3 separate regions of the Homo sapiens genome follow, and all the other regions are linked to region 2. The links are contacts of gene promoters, found by promoter capture Hi-C in human tissues and cell types (Jung and others, 2019). All regions are on one chromosome and are shown on one strand. Each heading gives the region's core, a stretch centred on a gene start or on the middle of the fragment in contact. The rest is flanking DNA. Distances are from core to core; before and after follow the strand shown. Region 1 overlaps NVL (nuclear VCP like). Region 2 holds the start of FBXO28 (F-box protein 28). Region 3 overlaps NVL (nuclear VCP like).

Region 1 (3,336 bases), core at 270-2,769, 160 kb after region 2:
GATGGGGTCTTGCTATGCTGTCCAGGCTGGTCGTGACCTCCTGGCCTCAAGCAATCCTCTTGCCTCAGCCTCCCAAAGTGCTGGGATTATAGGTGTGAGCCGCTGCACCCCACCAAGACTAAGCTTTTTTGTTTGTTTGTTTGTTTTGTTTTTTGAGATGAAGTTTCACTCTTGTTGCCCAGAATGGAGTACAATGGTGTGATCTTGGCTCACTGCAACCTCCATCTCCCAGGTTCAAGCAATTCTCCTGCCTCTGCCTCCCAAGTAGCTGGGATTACAGGCGTATGCCACGATGCCTGGCTAATTTTGTAATTTCAGTAGAGATGCGGTTTCACCACGTTGGTCAGGCTGGTCTTCAAACTCCTGACTTCAGGTGATCTGCCCACCTCGGCCTCCCAAAGTGCTGGGATTACAGGAGTGAGCCACTGCGCCCGGCCCTAGACTAAGCTTTTGAACCCCAAATTTCCCAGTATATCAGGTATTCTAGATCTCATTTTATTTTATTTTTAAAGCCAGTCAAATTTAACAGTGGGAGGTTGTATACCAACTTTGGTGAGACTAACTTTTTTTTTTTTTTTTTTTTTGAGACAGGGTTTTACTCTGTAGCCGAGGCTAGAGTGTACTGGTGTGATATCAGCTCACTGCAGCCTTCCCCTCCTGGGCTCAAGCAGTCCTCCGACCTCAGCCTCCCAAGTAGCTGGGATTACTGGTGTGTGTCACCACGCCTGGCTAATTTTCATATTTTTTCTAGAGATCCTGTTGCTATATTGCCCAGGCTAGTCTCGAACCCCTGAGCTCAACCAATCCTCCTGCCTTGGCCTCCCAAAGTGCTGGGATTACAGGCTTGTGCCACTGCACCTGGACGACACTAATGTTAATAAGTTCTGATAACCCACCACCATTAGACATTAGACCAGCCAGGTGTTCCAGATCTTTTTAGTGCAACACATACAAGAGTATCTGGGACACTGAGGTATTTTCTCTTTTCCTTGAAGCAAATAATACAAAGTACAGCTACCTCAGCAATATCTAAGTGAAAGGAAACATTCAGGGAGTTGGTATAAATTCAGGGAGGGGGATAAATCACTTAGATACAGAAACAACAAAAAAGTTTTAAATGAAGGAAATGAGAAAAGTGGTGCTGTGTTTTTGGTCATTAATTGCTTTTCTTCACCATAAATTTTATGTACAGAGGTGGTAATGGGCTTACCTCATTTCTTTCTTTCTTTTTTCTTTTTTTTTTTGAGACAGGGGTCTTGTTCTGTCACCCAGGCTGGAAGTACAGTGGTGAGATCTCAGCTTACTGCAACCTCTGCCTTCTAGGCTCAAGCAATCCTCCTACCTCAGTCTCCCAAGTGGCTGGGACTACAGGTATGCACCACCACACCTGGCTAATTTTTCTCTCTTTTTCTTTCTTTTTTTTTTTTTTGTAGAGCCGGGATTTCACCATGTTGCCCTTGCTGGTCTTGAACTCCTGGACTCAAGCAATCTGCCCACCTCGGCTGCCCAAACTGCTGGGATTACAGGTATGAACTACCGCGCCCAGCTTACCCCACTGATTTCTCTAGAAAAAAAAAAATTGGTGCTCCTTATTATCACTCCTTGGTAACATAACACTAACAGAATCATAATCCATACTCAAAAATATAAGGAAGTAATGGGTAAAAAACATTTTTTCTACATAAGCAAGACAAACTCAGAGTCAATACAAGAATGACTGATAGATTTTGCTGCATTAAAGCCATAATATTCTGGCCGGGCATTGTGGCTCACACCTGTAATCCCAGCACTTTGGGAGGCCGAGACATGTGAATCACCTGAGGTCAGGAGTGCAAGACCAGCCTGGCCAACATGGCAAAACCCCATCTCTACTAAAAATACAAAAAATTAGCTGGGCATGGTGGTGGGAACCTGTAATCCCAGCTGCACGGGAAGCTGAGGCAGAAGAATTGCTTGAACCCGGGAGGCGGAGGCTGCAGTAAGCCAAGATTGCATCATTGCATTCCAGCCTGGGCGACGGAGTGAGACTCTCAAAACAGAAAACAAACAAACAAACAAACAAAACCTATAATATTCTATATAATAAAATTAAATATAAGTCATAAGACTGGGAAAAATAGTGTCAACACATAATTAAATAAAAGACTACTTTCCATCATAGAGTACCAATTAATGTAAAAAAAGAAAAAGACAGCAATAGCAAAAGGGTTGAAAGATAAGATCAAATAATTTCAAATCACTGGAGATAGTCAACCTCATGGTAATCAGGGACATGTATACTAAAATGTAATATGATTTGCCAATAAAACTGCCAAAAAATAAAAAGACAGGTATAATCCATTGTTGATAGGAAATGGTTATTTTCACACACTGTTGGTGGGCACATGTAACTGACAGTTTTTGTGAAGGATGATACAGCATTATTTTTCAAAATCTAATATATATCAATCTTCAACCCTGATTTTCACTTCCAAAAATCTATCTCATATAGTCCCATCACAGGTGCACAAAAATACGTGAAACAAGTTCAGCAGAGTTCTATTTACAACTGGAAACAATCTAAATGTCCAAAACAGGAGAATTATTATGTAAATTCTGCTGTATCCAGACTATTATACAATATCTATTTTTAAGTTATTACGTACATGAGAAAGTCATCAAGACAGAATGACCACATTTATATAAAAAATAGAAGCCTAGGTCCAGGCATGATGTAATCCCAGCACTTTGGGAGGCTGAGGCAGGAGGATCGCTTGAGGCCAGAAGTTCAATACAAGCCTGGGCAACACAGCAAGATCCCACCTCTAAAAACAAAAACTTAGCTGGGTGTGGTGGTGCACACCCGTACTACTAGCTACTCAGGCAGCTGAGGTGGGATCATTTCTTGAGCCCAGGAGCTCAAGGCAGCAGGCAGTGAGCTACAATCACACCACTGCACTCCAGCCTGGGAGACAGGGTAAGACCCTGTCTCAAACAACAGCAACAACAACAAAACAGAAGCGTAAAATATAAATTTTTTTATGTTTCTGGAAAAAATTCTAGAATGATGCATACTAAATGACAACTATTAGCAGTCTCGTAATAACCTCCAAAAAGAGTAATACGGAGGAGAATGGAAAGAAATTTACTCTCTTTATACTTGTGTTTTATTTGAATTTTTCACAAATGTGTATTCATGTATAACTAGTGCAATTAAAAAAGAATACATTTGCCAGGCGCGGTGGCTCACGCCTGTAATCTCAACACTTTAGGAGGCCGAGGCGGGCAGATCACGAGGTCAGGAGTTCGAGACCAGTCTGGCCAACATAGTGAAACCCCATCTCTACTAAAAATACA
Region 2 (3,112 bases), core at 421-2,920:
CAAAAAAATAAATAAATAAATAAAGGAAAATAATAGAAGCATGCTTATCCTTCAATGTGTATTTCCTAAAGACAAAGACATTGTCTTATATGACCATAATACAATTACCCAAATCGAAAAATTTAATATGATTACAGTATAATCTAATATACTGTCCATTTTTAAATTTTGCCAGTTGTCACAATAACGTTCTTCATAGTTATTTCTTCCTTAATCCAGGATCCCATCCAGGATCACCCATAGATTTAGTTGCCCTGTCTCTTTAGTATCCTTTAATCTGCCACAAACCCTTAGTCTTTGTCTTTTGTAACGTTAACACTTTTGAATAATTTATGGGCCCGTCATCTAGCGATGTCTACCTCAAACGCAACTCGTGCTTTTTTTGCATGAATACTACATTATGCTGCGTCCTTTTCAGGGTATTATATTAATAGGCATATGATATTGGCTCCTCCTATAACTGTGGCGTTAGTCTTGATCATTTGGTTATGATGGTGTCCACCAAATTTCTCTATTGTAAACTTTTTTTTTTTTTCTCGCTCTGTTGCCCAGGCTGGAGTGCAGTGGCAGGCTGACGGTTCGCTGCAGCCTCGAACTCGTGTGGCTCAAGCAATCCTCCCATCTCAGCCTCACGAGTAGCTAGGACCATAGGACCTAGCCACCACATTTGGCTAATTTTTTGTATTTTTTGTAGAGATGGGGTTTCTCCACGTTGCCCAGGCTGGTCTCCAACTTCTGGGCTAAAGTGATTCTCCCGCTTCAGCCTTCCAAAGTGCTGGATTACAGGCGTGAGTCAACACGCCCAGCCTTGTAAACTATTTCTTTTCATCTTTGTAAATAATACATAATTTATGGGGAGTTATTTTGAGACTATGGAAATATCATGTTCCTCATCACGTTTACCTCCTAGTTTTAGTACCTTTTGATGATTCTTGCCTAAATCAGTTATTAGAATACAATTCATATATGATAAAATTCATTAAAGTATATAGTAATTCAGTGGTTTTTGTATATTCATACGGTTGTGTAACCATCACCGCTAATTCCAGAGCATTTTTATCACCCCGAAAATGAAACCCTTCACCCATTAGCACTCATTTCCCCATTTCCCCCAGCCTCTGGCGACCACTAATCTACTTTTTATCTCTATGGATTTGCCTATTTAAGACATCCTATATAAATGCAATCATACAATATGTGGTCCTTTGTGTCTAACTTATTTCACTTAATATGTTCTCACGGTTCATTCATGTTGTAGTTCTTATTGATATTTCATACCTTTTTATTTGCCTAAATCAATCATTTCTATGATTCCTAAAAAATGGTGCTAGTCTAACTACATTATTTCCATCTACACTTACTAGGCAACATCTTTATCATCCATTGTCAGGAAGCCCTTTAAGAAAACTGCACAGTGAAGTTCATTTTAATAAATAGGGTTTCCTTGCTCTCAAGTAGTTACTAATCTTAGACAAAAGGGTCTAGGATGACCACCTTTCTTGAGGTTTACATGATCTTCCCTGACTTCCACTTGAAAGGCACCCTGTGAGTCTCTCTCCGCCTGTTATCCCACAGGCTCCTCCCCACTCCTCCAGGTACCCCTTCCCCGGCGGCTGCAGGAGGAGGAAGTGACGCACCGGAAGTGTCCCTGTTCCCCTTGCTGTGGGGGTAAGGAATCAAGCCCCCAAGATGGCGGCAGCGGCGGAGGAGCGGATGGCAGAGGAAGGAGGCGGCGGCCAAGGCGACGGCGGTTCCTCTTTGGCCTCCGGCTCTACCCAGCGACAGCCTCCACCGCCCGCGCCACAGCACCCGCAGCCGGGGTCCCAGGCGCTCCCAGCCCCCGCGCTGGCTCCGGACCAGCTGCCTCAAAACAACACGCTTGTGGCGCTGCCCATCGTAGCCATCGAGAACATCCTCAGCTTTATGTCCTACGACGAAATTAGCCAGCTCCGCCTGGTGAGGCCCCCGCAGAACTCCTGCCTCCCTCTCCCCCCGGCCGAGGTCTGGGAGATGAGAAGGGAGCGCGTTCCCCGGGAAGGGAGCCCCCCGCGAGCCCCAGCCGGCTACAGATCTGGGAGGGAGCCGCTCCCGTCCCGAACTCTCCCTTGGCGTCAGTCAGCAGGAGTGGGCTGGTTCCCGATTGCGTCCTAGCTGCGGAGCTGGGGTTACTTCCTGAGGGGACTTCGCCTTGGGGGCTCCTTGCCCCCCGCCCGGAAGCGGGCCCTCTACGGGAGGGGTAGCGGAGTTGGTCTTCCCACCTTCCGCCTGGCCCGAGAGTAGACCCGGAGAGGTCATGTCGCCTGCCTTTTGTATGCCGCTTCCAGCCCCCGGCCTGGGTTTGGGGAGAAAACTCAGAAGTAGGCAGATGATCCCAGCCAGGTTTGGTTTATCTTGCAAGAATAACGAATTGTTCCCCACCCCAACCACCCAAGTTTTCTTGTTCGAGAAGATTGAGTAGACTAAGGTGGCTCAGTGACCCCAAACCCAGGTAGAGGTTCCGAAGAATTCGAACGTGTTTACTTAGCGTTAGCCCCAGCGCCCTAATTGACCACTAAAGTAGAGCCTTGGGAAATGACCATTCCTGCTTTGCCTCATCCTAACGCTTCCCACCGTAGAGAAGCAACTTACCCCTTGACGGGTTTTTTCTCTTTTGCAATTTATTTTTAACTAGTGATTTACGCCCACCCACCTGCTTTAGGAGAGGTTTCTTTATACCTTAAAATCACAATAGGTCAGTCCATGATTTTTAAAAATAATGAATTTGCCATTGGGGTTTTACTTCACTCCAGAGGTTTGAAGATGTGGTGATTGTTAGTTCAGTTAGATATTTTGCTGCCTTTCAATGAAATTATCTTTAAGTGGTAAAGAAATTGAAGGAGGTGGACATTTTGAAGTGATTGCAAACCGATTCCATGGAGAAGCTAAATCTGTGCTGGGAATTGTTTTTAAGAGGACAAAGATATTTCTGAATGTGCTGTGTATAACATCTTCTTATTACTCAATATGCTATATTGTAGGCATACACCTCCACTTTCAAGTGGATTATAATTACATTTTTAAAGGAAATCATAACATTTTTAAAAGAGAACTTATAAATATTAATTCAAACTGA
Region 3 (3,202 bases), core at 1-2,500, 140 kb after region 2:
AAAAAAAGCAATTAACATGAGATGAGAATAACCTCTTTATAAAAAATAAAAAATTAATAAATTGCATTTTATTTAAATGAAAAGCTTCTGCTCATCAAAATACATCTCTTCGGCTATGCATGGTGGCAGATCACCTGAGGTCAGGAGTTTGAAACCAGCCTGGCCAACATGGTGAAACCCTGTGCCTACTAAAAAAAACAAAACATTAGCTGGGTGTGGTGGTCCACACCTGTAATCCCAGCTACTTGTGAGGTTGAGGCAGAAGAATCACTTGAACCTGGGAGGCGGAGGCTGCAATGAGCGGAGATCGTGCCACTGCACTCCAGCCTGGGCGACAGAGCAAGACTCTTGTCTCAAAAACAATAACAAAAAAACAAAACATGTCCTTAAGTAAATGAAAAGTCCACCCCACCTTCCGGCCCCAAACTGCTCTTCTTCCAGGATTCCCTATCTCAGATAATGATCACCACACCACTCCACCCCACCCTACCTCCCAAATACCAGGCAGGTTTCTCCCTTCCCTCTAACCAATTTCCATCAAGCATTCCTCTGATTACGTCAACCCTCAGTAAAGGCAAAATGTGAGTCCTCCTAAATGGTCCTGCCTCTAGACTTCCTCTCTCTGGGCCTCTTTACAATGCCGCTAGTGTTATTGTCCTAAAATACACGTCCAATTCTCTCAAATTCCGCTCCCACTGCAGAATGAATCCTCCAGCTGTCACTATGGCAGGAAATCCCTTTAGGATCTGACCATCTTCCTTTCTGGTTTTATTCTTCCTACACATTCTTCCAACTCCCACGCCCTGTTTACACCAGATGTCTTGCTGTTCCCTAAACAATCCAGAAGCTTCTTGCCTTCTCTGTGCTCTCAGTGGTTCCCTTCCCTGAAGTGCCTCCCTCCTCATTTATACCTGTGGGAATTCTCAAAGGACACCTCTTTCAGGAAGTTTTCCTTGAGTCCCCCCAGATAAACTCTCTCACCTTCCTTTGTGCTTGCCAGACCCTTGGTATCAGGAGCACAGAGCAAGCCCCATACCTGAAGCTCATTTTGACCATTCCTGACTCCTCCACAAAGACCCCATTTTTAATAAAATCACATCATTTCCAACAGTCCCTTAACCATTAATATGAGGGTTCTTATAGCTCACAATGTTCAGACACAGGCTATAATTAATGAGATTCACGTTTCTAATAAACCTACTAAGACTTAACCAATGAGTTACTCCTCTACAAAGAGGTAAATTATTATTATTCCCTTTTTAGCTAAAATTCCAAACCTGTTAGATGTTGTTCTTTAACCACCTTATGGAACCCATATACTTATTATTCAATGGTTTCATCACTATTCAGCACATTGTTGGAATTCTCTCTTGGAATGCTAGGATTCCATACTTGGAAATAGGAAAGAATATTACTGCATAACACTTTCAATATCATACTAGAGCATGGTTCAACAAGCCTAAGGGTCTTCTGACTCTACAGAGCAGAGGTTGTCAAATATTCATGTCTCAGAATCCCTTTGCACTCTTAAAAATTATTGAGGACTCCTTTGTAACCTTTCTCTCCTGCCCTTACCTGCTCTCCTTTATCCTTAGGCAGCCACCTATCTGTTTTGGCACTATAGATTAGTTTGCATTTTCTAAAGTTTTATGTAAGTGGAATTATACAATATGTACTGTGCTTTCTTTCATGCAACATAATCATTTTGGGTTTCACCCAAGTTGTTTCATGTGTCAGTAATTTTCTTGTACAAGTCTTTGTATATGCTTTTTTTTTTAATGACAGAGTCTCACTCTGTCACCCAGGCTAGAGTGCAGTGGGGCGATCTCGGCTCATTGCAACCTCTGCCTCCTGGGTTCAAGCAGTTCTCTGCATCAGCCTCCCAAGTAGCTGAGATTACAAGTGTGCCCCCCTGCCCCCCACGCCCGGCTAAGTTTTCTATTTTTAGTAGAGACAGGGTTTCACCATCTTGGCCAGGCTGGTCTTGAGCTCCTGACCTCATGATCCACCCGCCTTAGCCTCCCGAAGTGCTGGGATTACAGGCCTGAGCCACGGCTCCCAGGCTGTATATGCTTTCATTTCTCTTCAGTAAATTACCTAAGTGTAAGATACCAGTAGTATGGCCATATCAAACTGTAGGTATATGCTTAACTTTTAAGAAATTGCTGGCCGGGTGGAGTGGCTCACGCCTGTAATCCCAGCACTTTGGGAGGCTGAGGCGGGAGGATCACAAGGTCAAGAGATTGAGACCATCCTGGCCAACATGGTGAAACCCCGTCTCTACTAAAAATACAAAAATTAGCTAGGCGTGGTGGCACATGCCTGTAATCTCAGCTATTCAGGAGGCTGAGGCAGGAGAATCACTTGAACTCAGGAGGCGGAGGTTGCAGTGAGCCGAGATCAGGCCACTGCACTCCAGCCTTGGGACAGAGCAAGGCTCGGTCTCAAAAAAAAAAAAAAAAAGAAAAGAAAAAAAGAAATTGCCAAACTGTTTTCCAAACTACTTGTACCATTACATTCCCATCATCAGTGCATGAAAGTTCCAGTTCCTCCATATCCTTGCCAACATTTGGCACAGCCAGTCTTTTCAATCTTTTAGTTATTCTAAGGTTTGTAGTGCTTACTGTGGCTTTAATTTGCATTTCCCTAGTGACTAATGGTGTGAAGCATTTTTCATGAGTTTGCCATTTGTACACCTCCTATGGTGAAGTAACTGTACAAATCTTTTGGCCATTTTTATGTTTAAAGTTGATTAAATAATTTTGTAAACTGACAAAGAAAAATGGTATATATTTAGGTTGTACAACATGTTTTTTTTTGTTTTGAGATGGAGTCTCACTCTGTCGCCCAGGCTGGAGTGCAGTGGCATGATCTCAGCTCACTGCAACCTCTGCCTCCCGGGTTCAAGTTCATTCTCCTGCCTCAGCCTCCTGAGCAGCTGGGATTACAGGTGACCACCACCATGCCCGGCTAACTTTTGTATTTTTAGTAGAGACGGGGTTTCACCATATTGGTCAGGCTGGTCTCGAACTCCTGACCTCGTGATCCACCTGCCTTGGCCTCCCAAAGTGCTAGGATTACAGGCATGAGCCACAGTGCCTGGCATTTTTTTTTTTTTTTTTTTGAGATGGAGTTTTGCTCTTGTTGCCCAGGCTGGAGTGCAATGGCGCAATCTCAGCTCACCGCAACCTCTACCTCCTGG

Evidence for each region. The method cuts DNA at HindIII sites, captures the fragments that hold promoters and counts their contacts. A contact is called where the count stands out against the background at its distance.
Region 1: a contact is called between a fragment that was not itself captured here and the fragment with the promoter of FBXO28 in region 2, in 3 of the 25 tissues and cell types used here (H1 embryonic stem cells, aorta and liver).
Region 3: a contact is called between a fragment that was not itself captured here and the fragment with the promoter of FBXO28 in region 2, in 1 of the 25 tissues and cell types used here (pancreas).

Annotation. Positions count from the first base shown.
Region 1 is chr1:224,268,522-224,271,857 of GRCh38, forward strand. The region is part of intron 17 of NVL (nuclear VCP like); the gene reads right to left. Among named protein-coding and RNA genes, the nearest start is that of MIR320B2, 13 kb to the left of the region's middle. The HindIII fragment of the contact is 3,616 bases long and covers 1-3,327 here.
Region 2 is chr1:224,112,441-224,115,552 of GRCh38, forward strand. It overlaps FBXO28 (F-box protein 28), which reads left to right and starts at 1,671. Exons shown (of 5, transcript NM_015176.4): 1 at 1,671-1,956. The coding sequence starts at 1,690. LOC105373056 (a long non-coding RNA gene) reads right to left here and starts at 1,600. Exons shown (of 3, transcript XR_007066897.1): 1 at 1,495-1,600. RefSeq lists enhancers at 1,314-1,443, 1,464-1,523, 1,664-1,733. The HindIII fragment of the contact is 33,635 bases long and covers 1-3,112 here.
Region 3 is chr1:224,251,286-224,254,487 of GRCh38, forward strand. All of the region lies in intron 18 of NVL (nuclear VCP like), which reads right to left. Among named protein-coding and RNA genes, the nearest start is that of MIR320B2, 4.2 kb to the right of the region's middle. The HindIII fragment of the contact is 6,578 bases long and covers 1-3,202 here.